Regions from separate parts of the Homo sapiens genome. Here all the other regions are linked to region 1. The links are contacts of gene promoters, found by promoter capture Hi-C in human tissues and cell types (Jung and others, 2019). All regions are on one chromosome and are shown on one strand. Each heading gives the region's core, a stretch centred on a gene start or on the middle of the fragment in contact. The rest is flanking DNA. Distances are from core to core; before and after follow the strand shown. Region 1 holds the start of CTHRC1 (collagen triple helix repeat containing 1). Region 2 overlaps FZD6 (frizzled class receptor 6). Region 3 overlaps SLC25A32 (solute carrier family 25 member 32).

What was found. The method cuts DNA at HindIII sites, captures the fragments that hold promoters and counts their contacts. A contact is called where the count stands out against the background at its distance.
Region 2: a fragment that was not itself captured here is called in contact with the fragment with the promoter of CTHRC1 in region 1 in 1 of the 25 tissues and cell types used here (H1 embryonic stem cells).
Region 3: a contact is called between a fragment that was not itself captured here and the fragment with the promoter of CTHRC1 in region 1, in 1 of the 25 tissues and cell types used here (hippocampus).

What each region holds. Positions count from the first base shown.
Region 1 is chr8:103,369,595-103,374,418 of GRCh38, reverse strand. It overlaps CTHRC1 (collagen triple helix repeat containing 1), which reads right to left and starts at 2,881. Exons shown (of 4, transcript NM_138455.4): 1 at 2,613-2,881. The coding sequence starts at 2,762. RefSeq lists enhancers at 946-995, 1,006-1,135, 1,633-2,426, 2,427-3,221 and a silencer at 2,878-2,997. The HindIII fragment of the contact is 7,309 bases long and covers 582-4,824 here.
Region 2 is chr8:103,322,619-103,327,442 of GRCh38, reverse strand. It overlaps FZD6 (frizzled class receptor 6), which reads right to left. Exons shown (of 7, transcript NM_003506.4): 4 at 1,945-2,962. Among named protein-coding and RNA genes, the nearest start is that of SNORD173, 16 kb to the right of the region's middle. The HindIII fragment of the contact is 6,528 bases long and covers 1-4,824 here.
Region 3 is chr8:103,403,112-103,407,935 of GRCh38, reverse strand. SLC25A32 (solute carrier family 25 member 32) reads left to right here. Exons shown (of 7, transcript NM_030780.5): 2 at 152-302; 3 at 3,075-3,160; 4 at 4,612-4,772. Among named protein-coding and RNA genes, the nearest start is that of SLC25A32, 9.6 kb to the left of the region's middle. The HindIII fragment of the contact is 5,860 bases long and covers 1-4,824 here.

The DNA of each region.
Region 1 (4,824 bases), core at 1,632-4,131:
TTTACTCTAACATTTCCTCTATTTGTGTAAGTTGCCTAGTATTATTCTGTATAACTATATTTCCCAATGAAAACAAAAAACAAAGTTTCTTAGATATTAAAGTAACTTCAAAGCTTATCTTTTGACTACAGTATCTGGGATTGGATGATAAAATCCAATAGTTGTCTGGGAAGAATCCTATATAATTAGACTGATGCTTGCTAATCAATTTGTGTCTCCATCGCCAGTTTGAGTTTTGGTTTGATAAATGACTTTTTAAGTCTTTGACATCGCCATTTTCCTGACTGTAAGAAGAAAAAGACACTACTACTTATTTACTGTCAGAGAAATAGTTAAAAAAAAGAAAAGAAAAAGCATTTAACAATTACAAAAGTATTCAAAGACACAAAAAGTAAAGCATTTTAAAAGTGCAAAATATTTCAAAATAGTTTGGTGTGTTTTAGACTTTATTTTTATTTTAGTAATTTAATTCACTCTCACAAGCAGATATATACAATGTTTAGACATACATTTCAAATGGGAATAAGACTGCTTCTGATATTCTTTGATTTTTTTCACTATTATTCCCCTCAGGGCAAGATGCTACACAGACTAAATTTTACTTCATTATATATCAGTGGATCTCAACTGGGGACAATTTTGTCCTCCAGGGGACACTTGGCTATGTCTAGAGACATTTTTGGTTGTCACAACTTGGGAGAGGGGATTGCTACTGGCATCTAGTATGTACAAACGATGCTGCTAAACACGCGACAACGGACAGGACAAGTCCCCACAAGAATTATCTGGCCCAACATGTCCATTGTGCCATATTGGGAATTTTTATTCACCTTTTCATCTAAAAGATACATTTCAAAGACTATATAACTTTACTTGACTCGATTCCGCAGGTGTTACATCAGTCTTCTACTTTAAAATGCTAACCCAACATATGCTTAGTACTCTCAATAAATGTCTGTGGAATGAAAAAAAAAAGATGTGAAGGGAAGCGCACTTTTATACGCCCCTGTTTCTTTCACTGGCCACCAGGGGGCAGAGCTTTGTGGAAGCTTGAAAGGAACGCTTTGAAAGATCCTATACAAAGAAGTTGCTTTATAGAATCTGTTGAAACCTTAATGACTGTGGACTTCTTCTGTCAGCAAAACCAAATCCAACCTACAGGATGCACCTGAGCCTGACTGCAAAATCTTTTCCAAGTCTGGCTAGAGTTGTGGGAAACCACAGGTACTGTAAATCCTTGAAGGGGGGAAAATAGCAAGCTTCACAGGAAAAATGGGTATTTTGTGTATCATAACTACAGACTCATAAAATGCAAACTACACATGAACCATACTCATTTGGCACAGTTTTAATAATTTGGACACTTAAAATAGAACTGTTGCCTGAACACATAGTCCCCTTTTGTGGATCAAAATTACACAGCCTACCACCAAAAAGTGCTGTGTGAAATGGCGGGAATTTTTTTCCCAGCACTTTTGAATCCAATACAGAACTAGCTGCCAGGGAACTTGGTATATTAGCTCAGTTTAAAATGGCAGCTTAACAAATTCAAAACTTTCTTTTTAATTAAAAAAAAATGCCCCAACTTATGTCTTGCAATGCCTGTAAATCATGTTTGTCTGCAAGTGAGACTGAAGTTTATAATATGCCAAGGACTACGGTAGCTCTGAAAGGCTCCCTCATACCACAGGCCAGAGAACCTCTCCGCCCTCCACTGGGTTTGTTGATTTTTAGAGGGAAGGATTTTAAGCAAACATACCTTCCCACAGATGAGCCCCTGGAAAGCACTCGGGCCGTTCATTTCCAGTTTCCTGGAAACTGTTTTCTCCCGTAGCTTGACTGTGATGCTCCTACCTGGCGGCCACATATGAAGACCCAGGGTGTGTGTAATGACAGACTGCCCATTTGGTTTAAACAGAAGCAAAACAGGTCCTTAGAGGGTTAGCGCCGGGCCCCTTCATTTCCCTTTCCGGCCTTAAACCTTCTGAACCATTCCTAGCCCCAGCTGTGGTTGTCCAACAAAGTAAATTGCAGCCCATACTCCCTAGGAAGATGACCCAACGTGACTCATAGTCTTCAAGTTACAAAGAGTTGGACGGATGCTTTGTGGGGGTTGTTATTCTCTCTCGCAGGCAGACGTGGCCACCAGCCCCAACAAAGGACACGTTGCACCGCCCTGGCCCAGGCCCAGGTCCATGTGATCAGCGAGGCCAGGGTTTTTCCCAGGTCCACTTCGGACGTACCCAAGCTCCTCATCCTACTCTCACTGCCGCCCTATCCCTCCCACCCTTCCCAAGGGGTCCCCCTGGGGCCAGAAATTATTGGGGGACTCCCTGTACTTCGGGGAGACCCACCGGGCCCATATCGCATGTCCGCTCCACGATGGCCTCCCATTTTGGTCTCCCCTCTGAGTTCCAAGACTCACTGCACGCATAACCAGGTCCTTCTTCACCTGTAAATAAAAAGCATGACACCCCGGCGCAGCAAGACACACGACACACAGCTGTACAGACAGACACCCCCAACAGCCAGACTGACGCCCTGCCCGTGGGGCGCGCGGCCAGGTCCCCTCCACCAGCGCGGCGGTCCCGGCTCGGCTCCCTCGGACTCACCAGGTCCACCACCTCCCTCTGCCGGAGCTGCGCCTTTTGCTTCCCCTTGGGGATCTCAGAGGCGCTCGACGGCGCGGGCAGCTGCAGCAGCAGGAGCAGCAGGAGGCCGCGGAGCCGCTGCGGGGAGGCGGCGGGGCCCTGGGGTCGCATGGCTCCCGGCTGCCGGGCAGCGCGGAGCTGGAGGCGGAGGAGACCGAGGAGAGGAACGTGGTCAGCGTCTGGCTCCGCCGCGCTCCGAGGCCGCCGCAGGCTGCATCAATGCGCCTTTCACCCGCGCGCCTCTCTCCCTCCCTTAATTCCTCCCGCCCCCGCGACACCCGGAGCTTCCATCCCGTAATAGGCCCCGAGCCCCCACCCCGAGCCCGGCGTGGGGGCGGACCGAGAGCCGGGCCCGCCCCCTCCTACTGCAGTCGCTCGGCCTGTCAGGACCCCCGCGGGGCTGCGCAGACCCTCGTGGAGAGCCCGCCTGCAGGGTCTGGGCGGGGTGGCCCGTGGTCAGGAGCCGCAGGTCGGGGATTCCCGCAGGTAACACAGCGCCGCCTAAATGAACATTTTAGAGACACGTGGCTTAACCTGGGTACACGAGCCACCTTCAAGGGTCGTCAATCTATGGCATGGGTCGGCGAGTCTTATTTGTTTTTTGTTTGTTTGTTTGTTTTTGAGACAGAGTCTCGCTCTGTCGCCCAGGCTGGAGTGCAGTGGCGCCATCTAGGCTCACTGCAAGCTCCGCCTCCCGGGTTCACGCCATTCTCCTGCCTCAGCCTCCAGAGCAGCTGGGACTGCAGGCACCCGCCACCACGCCCGGCTAATTTTTTTTTTTTTTTTTTTTTTTTTTTTTTTGAGACGGAGTCTCGCTCTGTCGCCCAGGCTGGAGTGCAGTGGCGCGATCTCGGCTCACTGCAAGCTCCGCTTCCCGGGTTCACGCCATTCTCCTGCCTCAGCCTCCCGAGTAGCTGGGACTACAGGCGCCCGCCATCACGCCCGGCTAATTTTTTGTATTTTTAGTAGAGACGGGGTTTCACCGTGTTAGCCAGGATGGTCTCGATCTCCTGACCTCGTGATCCACCCGCCTCGGCCTCCCAAAGTGCTGGGATTACAGGCGTGAGCCACCGCGCCCGGCCCCGGCTAATTTTTTATATTTTTAGTAGAGACGGGGTTTCACCGTGTTAGCCAGGATAGTCTAGATCTCCTGACCTTGTGATCCGCCCGCCTCGGCCTCCCAAAGTGCTGGGATTACAGGCGTGAGCCACCGCGCCCTGCCTTATTTGTTTTTTGGAGGTGACATTTTTGGAGGCTGGAAGGTGGGGGTGGGGCGGAGGCAGGAAGAAACCATAGGTATCATCAGGTTTTCCAAGAGTCCCATGACCCAAATGATATATAAACGCTGTTTTCATAAGTGCTAACACTTACTAAGCTCTGGCACATTGCAAAACCTTGCACGCGTACTCTGTCCTCTCAGCAATCCTGGCGGGTTGGGAGGGGTAGATGCCTCCTGGGCTACTCTCATAAACGAATGAGGAAACTGAGGCTCAGGGAAGTTAATCAATATCCAGTGGAAATGGTAGAAGTTCACTTTTGAGTACTCTTTGCCTCTGATGGATATTATCTTTTTGTAACCCCCTCTGTCCTCCTTTGGCCTGTCCATTGTAGAAGAAAACATTCTCAGGGCCCAGGCTACCCACCACGTAGGGCCAGGTTGGAGCAGGAGATCTTTTATATATAACTGGCTGGAATCAGGCATAACAGAAGTCTTGCCACACCCATAACAACACGAGGTTGTGACGGATGGTAATACTGTGAAGTCAAATTCAGCTCAGCAGGGGTCTCCCTATAGACCCATGCAGGTTTTCCGGAGTTGGTGAGTCCAGCTGATGGATGTTAAAGAGAGGGAGCAGTCTAGCAGGGAAGCAGGTCGCGGCAGTTCTGCAAATGCCCAGTCCTGGGCTGGTAACTAACTAAAGGTAAATTTCACTTGTTTTTCTAGAAGCAGCAAAAATCCAAATGAACTGTAAAGCCAGGGCTGGTTATATAATTTGCCCCACCCAGTGCAAAATGAAAATGCAGGAGCTTTTGTTAAAAAATTATTCAGAATTGCAAAATGGTGTCAATGGAGCATTAAATCACGTGTGGGGTCCTTCTAAGTGCCTGGCCCTGTGTGACAGCACAGGTCATATGCCCATGAAACTGGCCCTGTATGGGGTTGCAATCCTAG
Region 2 (4,824 bases), core at 658-3,157, 46 kb after region 1:
TTTGTATTTTAGTAGAGACAGGGTTTTACCATGTTGCCCAGGCTGGTCTTGAACTCTTGAGCTCAGGCAATCCGCCCTCCTCAGCCTCCCAAAATGCTAGGATTACAGGCGTAAGCCACCGCACCCGGCCAGAGCTCTTTATTCTTTGTAAAGGCTGTTGCATTGTGTGAGTGAACCATAACTTATTCTACTATCCCTGTTAATAGATACTTACTTCCAATCTATTGTCATTTGCAAATAATGTTGTAGTGACTATCTTGGTATTATTTAATTTCTCATATTTGTAAGCAAATCTGTCTATAAATTCCCAGAAGGGCAGTATCAGTGTACACACATTATACATCTGTACATACCGCGAAATTGCTTCAACAGAAGGTTGAACTAACTCTTAATAGCAAAGTCTGAAAATATGTATTTTGCTATTTATTGTTTCACCACACAGTGGTTAGAACACCTTTAAGATGTTTGCCGTATCATACATGGAAATATAATTTAATTTTAATTTTACATTTATTTTACTATAACTTTTTCACATGTTTAAGAATAGTTTTTTCATTTTTATTTCCTGTGAACCTTTTTCCTACTCTTTTCTCATTTTTATATCAGATGGATGGTTTTTTTCTTATTGATCTGTAGCAACTCTTTATAAATTAGAGAAATTAGCCTTTCAGCTATGATGTCATATGCAAATAAACTTTCCCAGTTAGTCTTTTGACATTGATTATGGATTGTTTGTTTGTTTTTTTTTGTCACGCAGAATCTTTAAAAAAATTTTTTTTTACTTAGTCAAATTTAGCAATCTTTTATAATTTCTACAACTACAGGAATATTATATCCTTCTCCACTTGAAGATTATAATTTTCTAATTCTATTATATTTTACAGTTTCTTACATAAAACATAATAACTACAGATCTTAAACTTGAAAACCATAGATCTTAAACTTTTTAATAATATGTAATAGTTTCCTCTCCCCAACCTTGCCAAAAAGACTGAGGAAACTAGGAGTCATTATTAATATAGCAGGATCACTTTAAGACACAGCCTCTTATTAAGTATATAGTAAAAACAAACTATGGATAATAGATTATGGACAACGTATAAGGCAAGTAAAACTAGTATCCCCACATACCAACATAAAAAATAGATTCCACAATGTTATAAAGCAGTAACTTTCTGAAATATAAGCTATTATATGAAATAGTTTGACATTCCCATTGCTTAATTTGATACACTGTGATGGCAGTGCTCATGTTCAATGCAGTTAATACCGCACAGAGTCAGGAATAATGTCTAAAATCTACTAAAACAAAACCAAATTTCTATTTACAAAACTTCAACTAAAATGCTTTAAGAAATTTTATATTTTCAGAAATTTACTTTTATTAATTTTAAAAACACCACCCTTATACTAATCATAAGAATCAGAAATAGATAAAGCATATTTTGTTACAACTGTGTTTTTTTCAATTGAGAAATGACAGATGAGTCAGGCAAAAAGCAAATTCTGTTTTTGTAAGTATATACTATGTAAAAAGCTATAAGATAATATGATCAAATTAAATATATCCAAATAAGATTTTTTACTACTAACTAAAAAATTAAAAATAATTGCCAATGCGACAAAAGTGACTTCTGTTTTTCTCCCAATGTCAAGGTCTGTTCTTCTGACTCTGCTCTTTATTGCTATTAATCTGCCTTTGCAGCTCAATTTAATTTTTCAGAGAATAAAGGAAGTGCTTTACTATACAACTGAAGCTAAAGCTTGAGGAAGGAAGTCATGAAACATTCATCCCAGTTTCAGTTGATGTATAGGAAATCCTTACCTATGGCTCTTGTATTTTCTCACCTGAAATCAACTTTTACATCCATGACAAGTATATTTCCATGAAACATTTTCTACATTAAATGTAAATAGAGACATAATCCAAGTGATAGCTTTTACCTGATAAGGACATGGGATATGGTACTGACGACAATGATCAGAGACCCAAGTTATCTCCCAGGTAATCCTGTTCACTTGCTCATAGACGTAACATCCGAGAAGTGTCACTAATGGCACAAGATACAAGCCGCTGAAGACTCCAATTCGAATCATAAATTTCTTTAGTTTTTCTTGGTTCCGGCCATCATGTTGTATGACTTGTCGAACATGATTTAAGGAAATAATGCCAGCTAAAAGAAGAGAGAGCCCAACAAACACACAAAGGCACAGTGGCAAGAGTACAAAGTAGCGAGAAGCATCCAGGTCATAAAGGCCAACAAAGCAAACTCCACTAATGTTGTCTCCTTCAACTTTGTTCATAGCAAGAAGCATAACAGTCAGGAAACCTGGTGTTCCCCATGCAACAGCATGAAACCACACTGCTTTTTGCTCGATGGCTTCACAACTCCATTTTCTTCCTGCAGCTAAGAACCAAGTAATGGTAAGAATCACCCACCACACAGTGCCAGCCATTGTGAAAAAATACAAAAGCATGAACAAAACGGTGCAAGCCTTATTTTGAGAGCCTAGGACAACAGTGTCACCAAGTTCTAGCTTCTCATCTGCCTTATTGCAGGCTGTGCTATCGCCTAGCAAAAATCCAATGAAGTACATAAGAGATACAATGCTGTAACAGACAGAGTAATATATAATTGGTCTCTCTGGGTATCTGAATCTTCTAACATCAATTAAAAAAGTAAGGAATGTGAACAGAGTTGCACAAAGACAAAATATTGAAACTGTTCCAATAAAACTTTTTGCAAACTCTAGCTCATCACTTTTAAAATACATGTTGGGGCATGGAGGCGCACACTGGTCAATTCCCAGAAACTTATATCCTTGTCCCCCAGAAGTCTTAAGATGCCTTGGACACCAAAATCCAATGTCTCTTTGGACTTGTTCTGTTTTCTTCTGAGGACCAAGAAATTCTGTGTGTGGATCAAAAGTTACAGGAACAGTCTCATCACAGTATTGTAATCTGTAAAGATTATAAAAATTAAATATATGAAATCAACATTTTTATTGATTCAATATATTAAGCAATGCTTTCCAACTATAAAATATTACCTTATGTATTCATGATTGATGGGAAGAGATACAAATCTAAATGGATTACAGATAAGAGTTGAGTAGAAATTTTTGAAGTTGACTAAAAACTTGTGGCTGTTAATGGGGCCTCAACACAATAATTTATATTAAATACAAAGCAGGTGAACATGAAAATGCACTTACTTGGAAAAAATTAGCCAATTCATAATTTTAAAATAATTTCTGTTTTTAAGACTAAATATTTAAAAGAATTTATCTTAATTGGTAGGCTCCAGATAAGTACTGGCTTGTCTCTTTATAGCATATGAAATATGTCTTTATATCATATGAAATATATCTTGTCTATTCACTTTTATTTTCTAATGTCCATAAGAAAAGTAAAGCAACCATATAACTAAAGTGATGATAATTAAAATGAATGAAATGAGATCCTTCCCTGGATTGACAGGATAGAGTTCAAGTTTTTAAAGACAGGCAAGTATACCAGCAAGAGGCAGGCTGAGGACCAGCTTAATGAACATCACCATTTTGTTCAGGTTGGGCTCTTTGCCTCCCTTGTTTATGGACAGTCCTGAGTGATAGATGGAGATATTTCCATCTCTTTATCACTAAGTTGAGTTTGTACATACCAGTATTATTTTGGGGGATCTATAATGGTTTAAAAAGTATTGGAGGTTTTGGCCAGGTACGGTGGCTCATGCCTATAATTCCAGCACTTTGGGAGGCTGAGGCAGGTGGATAACTTGAGGTCAGGTGTTCAAGACCAGACTGGCCAACATGGCGAAACCCCATCTCTACTAAAAATACAAAAATTAGCTGGGCGTGGTGACAGGTGCCTGTAATCCCAGCTACTTGGGAAGCTGAGGCAGGAGAATCACTTGAACCTGGGAGGCGGAGGTTGCAGTGAGACAAGACCGAGCCACTGCACTCCAGCCTGGGAGACAGAGAGACTCTGTCTCAAGGAAAAAAAAAAAAAGTACTGGAGGTTTTAAATGAGAAAGCATTTTAAATATACCTTAGATAAGAACAGACTAAAACATATGCCCATAAAATGAAATACAAAAAAAACTACCAGCTTTATTAAAACATAATATTATGTCAATTTTGCTTTATATCTTTTAAAATAAAGCAATATAACATTATAGATACAGTGGGGACCCTTTCTGGTCTTAGTTCCTTCTCTCTCTCCTCAGAAGTATTCATTACCACAAATTCGGTGTTTACTCTCAAGCATTTTAAAATATTTTTATTACATTATTTACTAACTATAACCTTATAAAGTATTGTTTTTCAGGTTTTGAACTTTATATAAATGACACCATGCTGTATATAGCATGCTATAACTTACATTTTAAAATTTAACACTATATTTTCTAGATTTATCCATGTCGACAGATGTGGGTCAACTACATTCATTTTATCAACTGTATGGTAGTATTCCAGTGTGTAAGTACATCACAATTTACTAATCATTCTTCTATGATGGACTTTTAGATTTTTTCCCATTAAAAGAATTAGGAATAATCTACAATCAATATTCTTGTGCACGACTCTCTGTGTAAGAGTTTCTATGGGAGGGGATTTCCTAGGATGCAGGGTTAAGCATCTGCCATTTTACTATATGTTACTCAATTGTTCTTGAAAATGATTATGTATCTACCAGAAGTGTGTAAGTTCCACATAGGTTCTATAGTTTCTTCAGCCTAAAAATAAAACAAAAAGCTAACCAGTTTCTTTCCCCAATTTATTATATGAGGTCTCACTGTATCAGTAGAATAAATTAGCAGCCTC
Region 3 (4,824 bases), core at 1,240-3,739, 34 kb before region 1:
ATAAAAGCCTGGAAAATAATTTTTTCTACCTAAAAAAGTTTTTCTTCTAAGTTTATCTCCTTTATATAACCAATTGTACAGTGTCTGTGTTTATATGTGATACAGAGCTAGAACTTTGTTCTTACCTGACTTTGTGTATCCCTTGATGCAGTGAGTGATGGATTGGAACTGAGACCGAAATATAATGGAATTTTACATTGCTTGACTACCATTTGGAAACTTGATGGACTACGGGGACTTTATCAAGGAGTAACCCCAAATATATGGGGTGCAGGTTTATCCTGGGGACTCTACTTTTTCTTGTGAGTAGATTTGGGAGATTTTACAGTATTAAATTAAAAAGGAATTTTTGTTTTCGGTGATTTTTACATGTAAATGTAAAATGATAAGTTGAGTCATTTAATCAGTTTCTCTGAATTGGAAGGATCAGGAAGAACAAAATGGCTGATTAGTTATTTGATTAGTTTGATTCAAAATGGCTTATTAGTTTGATTATCAGATGCCTATTAATAGCTAATGGCTTATTAGCTATTATCAGAGGCATTATTTGGTCTGGAAGAAAATTCTTAATAGGAAAAAGGCAAAGAGATGAGGTGGAATGATACTTTTAGAGAAGCCATTTCTGTGAGGTGAATTCAGGAAGATGAAATGTATAACTGATTACTTTTGTAAGCTAAATACATATTAAAGAGAGCTTTTTATTTTAGTTAAAGCCATTTGAAAAACAGCCAACTCCAGATAATTCACAATGAAATTGTAGGGCCCCATCGGTGTTTTATTAGGTGTTTTGGCCATATCAATACATACTTGTGAGCATTTCTAATTAGAGTCAAAATATTACTAGATTAGAAAAAGTTGAATCAGTCGGTTTGTTATTTATTAGTGATTTTGGAAAGTGATGTAGAGACTGGAAGAGCCTGCAGCTGTTGTCCAAAATGAATCCTGTGGATTTCAGCTCTCTTTGGTATTCAATTTTGATAAAGAAAGATTGTTTAAATAACTAAGTTATTTTTTCCGTTTATCAGAGATTAGTTCCGGAGTGTCCCAAATAGAAAATTTTATAAATACTGAAGTATCATTAATTACTTGTTTATCCTCAACCAGATTCCCAAGATATTTGAGATGGCTTACAAAAATACATTTGTTTATGATGAAGGTGGAAAAACAGAGAGGATAGACCTTAGGGTCCTCATATGAATAGGTACCACAGGAAATCGCTGTTGGGAACAGAAAGCAAAAGCCAGTGCATGGCCTAAAGGGTTTGAGGCAAATTGTTTCTTCTTGTTTGACCTGCCCCATCATCTTCCCAGCTCATTGCTTTCCTTACTCCTTCACCAGTCAGATATCATCACCATTTAAAATAACTGCTCTCACCTGCCTCCTGAAGAAGCCATAGAAAGTTCCTGTGGCAGGCACATTCAGCTTATTTAGTGAACAAGAACATGGACACAAACCATCATCGCACTGTATTGCAGGAGCATGTGCTGCTCTGAGCACGCCTCTGATCTGTGAAACTGAAACCATGAATAAGGAAGCTTTTCTTTGCTTCAACAGATTTCATTTTTAGGAAAACATCAGTATCTAGTGTATTTGCCTTTGTCTTCTTTGTGTCATATATTTTGCTTGATCTCCCATAAGTTTATGGCAGTATCCAAACCAATCTTAAAGTATCTTTTAAGTGAAAGCAAAATAAAATTCAGCCTTAAAATTGTTTAAATATTTTTTCTCTTTTTCTTCTCTTTAGAGAGGTGTGTGTGAAACTATATACACACACACCCCCCTTGACATATATATGTGTGTATAGAATGTATGTATATATGTATATATAGATATGTTTATGTATATGTGTGTGTGTATATATATATATATACACACACACACACACATCATGAATTTGAGTTGTATAGATTCTTCAAGACAGCTTCTAAGGACAAGCCATATAAAATTTTTGTGATAAGAATTTCTTGGGCCAGGTGCAGTGGCTCACACCTGTAATCCCAGCACTTTAGGAGGCCAAGGTGGGAGGATCACATGAGTCTGGGAGTTCAGGACCAGCCTGGGCAACATAGTGAGACCTCCATCTCTTCAAAAAATTTAAAAAAGAATTAGTCTGGCATCATGATGCTGCATGCCTGTAGTCTTAGCTAATTAGGAGGCTGAGGCAGGAGGATTGCTTGAGCCTAGAAATTCAAGGTTACAGTGAGCTATGATTGTGTCACTGCACTCCAGCCTGGGTGATAGAGTGAGACTCTGTCTCTGAAATAAAAAAAAAAAGAAAGAATGTGTTCACTTGACATCGTCATCCAAGAGAAAAGTAGAAATCGGCATTAAAGGAAATAGGCTGATTTGACTCCCTTACTCTGAAACATTTAATGGATATTTTCTACCAAATAAAATGCAAATCTCAATCTACCACTCAAGTGTGGCCAATTTTCCCTGTCTTCCCACCCACCCTTATTACTTTTCACCATGCTCATCTTTTTCCTTGTTGAAACTGTGCCTGTCTCAATACCCAGCTCAATACTACCTCCTACACAAAGCCTTCTGTGATCTCAGTCATAATTCCTGAATTTCTTCTATTGTCTGTGTTGTCTTTTATTATGATTTATTTGTGTGCCACTTAATAGTCCTTATTAATTTGTTAAGAAAAATTCATCACTTGTTTATCTTTTTATCATCTATTAGAAAGCTAACTATAGTACCTGAACGTAGGTGCTCAGTATATATTTGTTAGGTACCCCTTCTTTGGTCCCTTTTGTCTTTTATGGCCAGTCTGTGTACCACTACTGTACTCTCCCCTCCTCCCAGTTTCCTTGTCTTTTGAAGTTAATTGATGAGTGTCTGATTAAAATATTTTACATTTGTATTGCTAGCCGTATTCATTTGAGAGGGAGGGGTGGTATAATCTTGCAGCAAACCACTTCCAGCAAATTCATTCTTGAAAAAGGTCTCATTTTGTGGTTGCATTATGCATTGACTTGTGCTTTTGGGGTACTGCTGTTGACTTACATACACTTTAAAACAGACTTAATGACACCTATTCAAATTAAACTGCTCACATTTAATTCTTTTAGTTACAATGCCATCAAGTCATATAAAACAGAAGGAAGAGCTGAACGTTTAGAGGCAACAGAATACCTTGTCTCAGCTGCTGAAGCTGGTAAGGCAATGTGTGAAATATAAAAATGTCACCTTCCAAACTTAATTTTCAGTTTTGGTTTTTGATTTCTTTTCTTTGAACACCTGAGTTTAAATATGCCCATCTAACTGTATTAAATCAGTTACATGGAATTTCTGTTTTTTTTGTTTGTTTGTTTTTCGGTTTTTGGTTTTTTTTTTTGAGGCGGAGTTTCGCTCTTGTCGCCCAGGCTGGAGTGCGGTGGCGCTATCTCGGCTCACTGCAACCTCTGCCTTCGGGTTTCAAGCGATAATCCTGCCTCAGCCTCCTGAGTAGCTGGGACTACAGACACGTGCCACCACGCCCAGCTAATTTTTTGTATTTTTAGTAGAGATGGGGTTTCACCATGTTGGCCAGAATTGTCTCGATCTCTTGACCTCTTGATCCACCTGCCTCTGCCTCCCAAAGTGCTGGGATTACAGGCATGAGCCACCACGCCTGGCTGTTATATGGAATTTCTTAGCAGAAATTATTATGATTACTCTGTGCAGATTTCAAGAATTTTACTCATGACAAAGTGGTAAAGTTTAGAAAAGTTATGAATCCCTAATGGTTTAAAATGATTTGGTATAGTGTTTCTTTAAAGTATAATTTTAATTTTCAAATTATACAATTTAGTAGCCTTGTTTAATCGCCTCACTTATGTATACTATCCAGAAGGAAAAAACAGTAAGAGCCGTAAGTCTTTGTAACTCCTACTTTAATACCTTGATTTCTTAATGTTGATTAGTCAAAACCTAACTTAATCATTTTTGAACACATAGCCACTAGCAAAAACCTGAGTCATAACAGGACCAAATATTTGTTGAATAAAGGACTACTTAGGAAACCTGGCAAATGAGAAACTTAACCAGATGAATTTTTTAATAAAATTGTCACTCTATAAAGGATGTAAAATGTGACTTACTGTATTACATAATTATTTAATTTTTGAGGGGTAGTAGTTACTTTGGATTTGAGGAAGATTGTGATAAAGTTGGGGTAGATATATGTGTCACATGCACAGATTATTGGGGTGCCAGATTCCTGGTTCTTTTCGCCTATCTTCAACCCCTCTGGGATTATACCATGTGCTACACCTAAGGTCTGTATCTGCTTACCATCTGTTCTCTGCACCAGGCCACGTTGTTTAGGAGTCAAGACATTTTTGCTATCCTTACACTTCAAAGAGAAAGCATTTCACATTTCCATCTCCCTTTTAATTTACCTCTAGCTAACTGCATGAGGAACTTTTTATGACTACCAAAAACAATGTCTACCTTTTGACCCTAAGACTGTGCCTCAGAAACTACATTTCACAGTTTCAGATATGGTCCTGTGCATTATCTTTTTTTTTTTTTTTTTTTTTACATAAATGTACTGTTTCTAATTTGGGTTGTCATAAGTGCGAAAGTATCTGTATGCTGAATAATCTTATTGAAATCTCATTTTAGGAGCCATGACCCTCTGCATTACAAACCCATTATGGGTAACAAAAACTCGCCTTATGTTACAGTATGATGCTGTTGTTAACTCCCCACACCGACAATATAAAGGAATGTTTGATACACTTGTGAAAATATATAAGTATGAAGGTGTGCGTGGATTATATAAGGTAACAAATTATCAATATATTTTAAATAACTGAAAAATTTGAATTTCCGTTG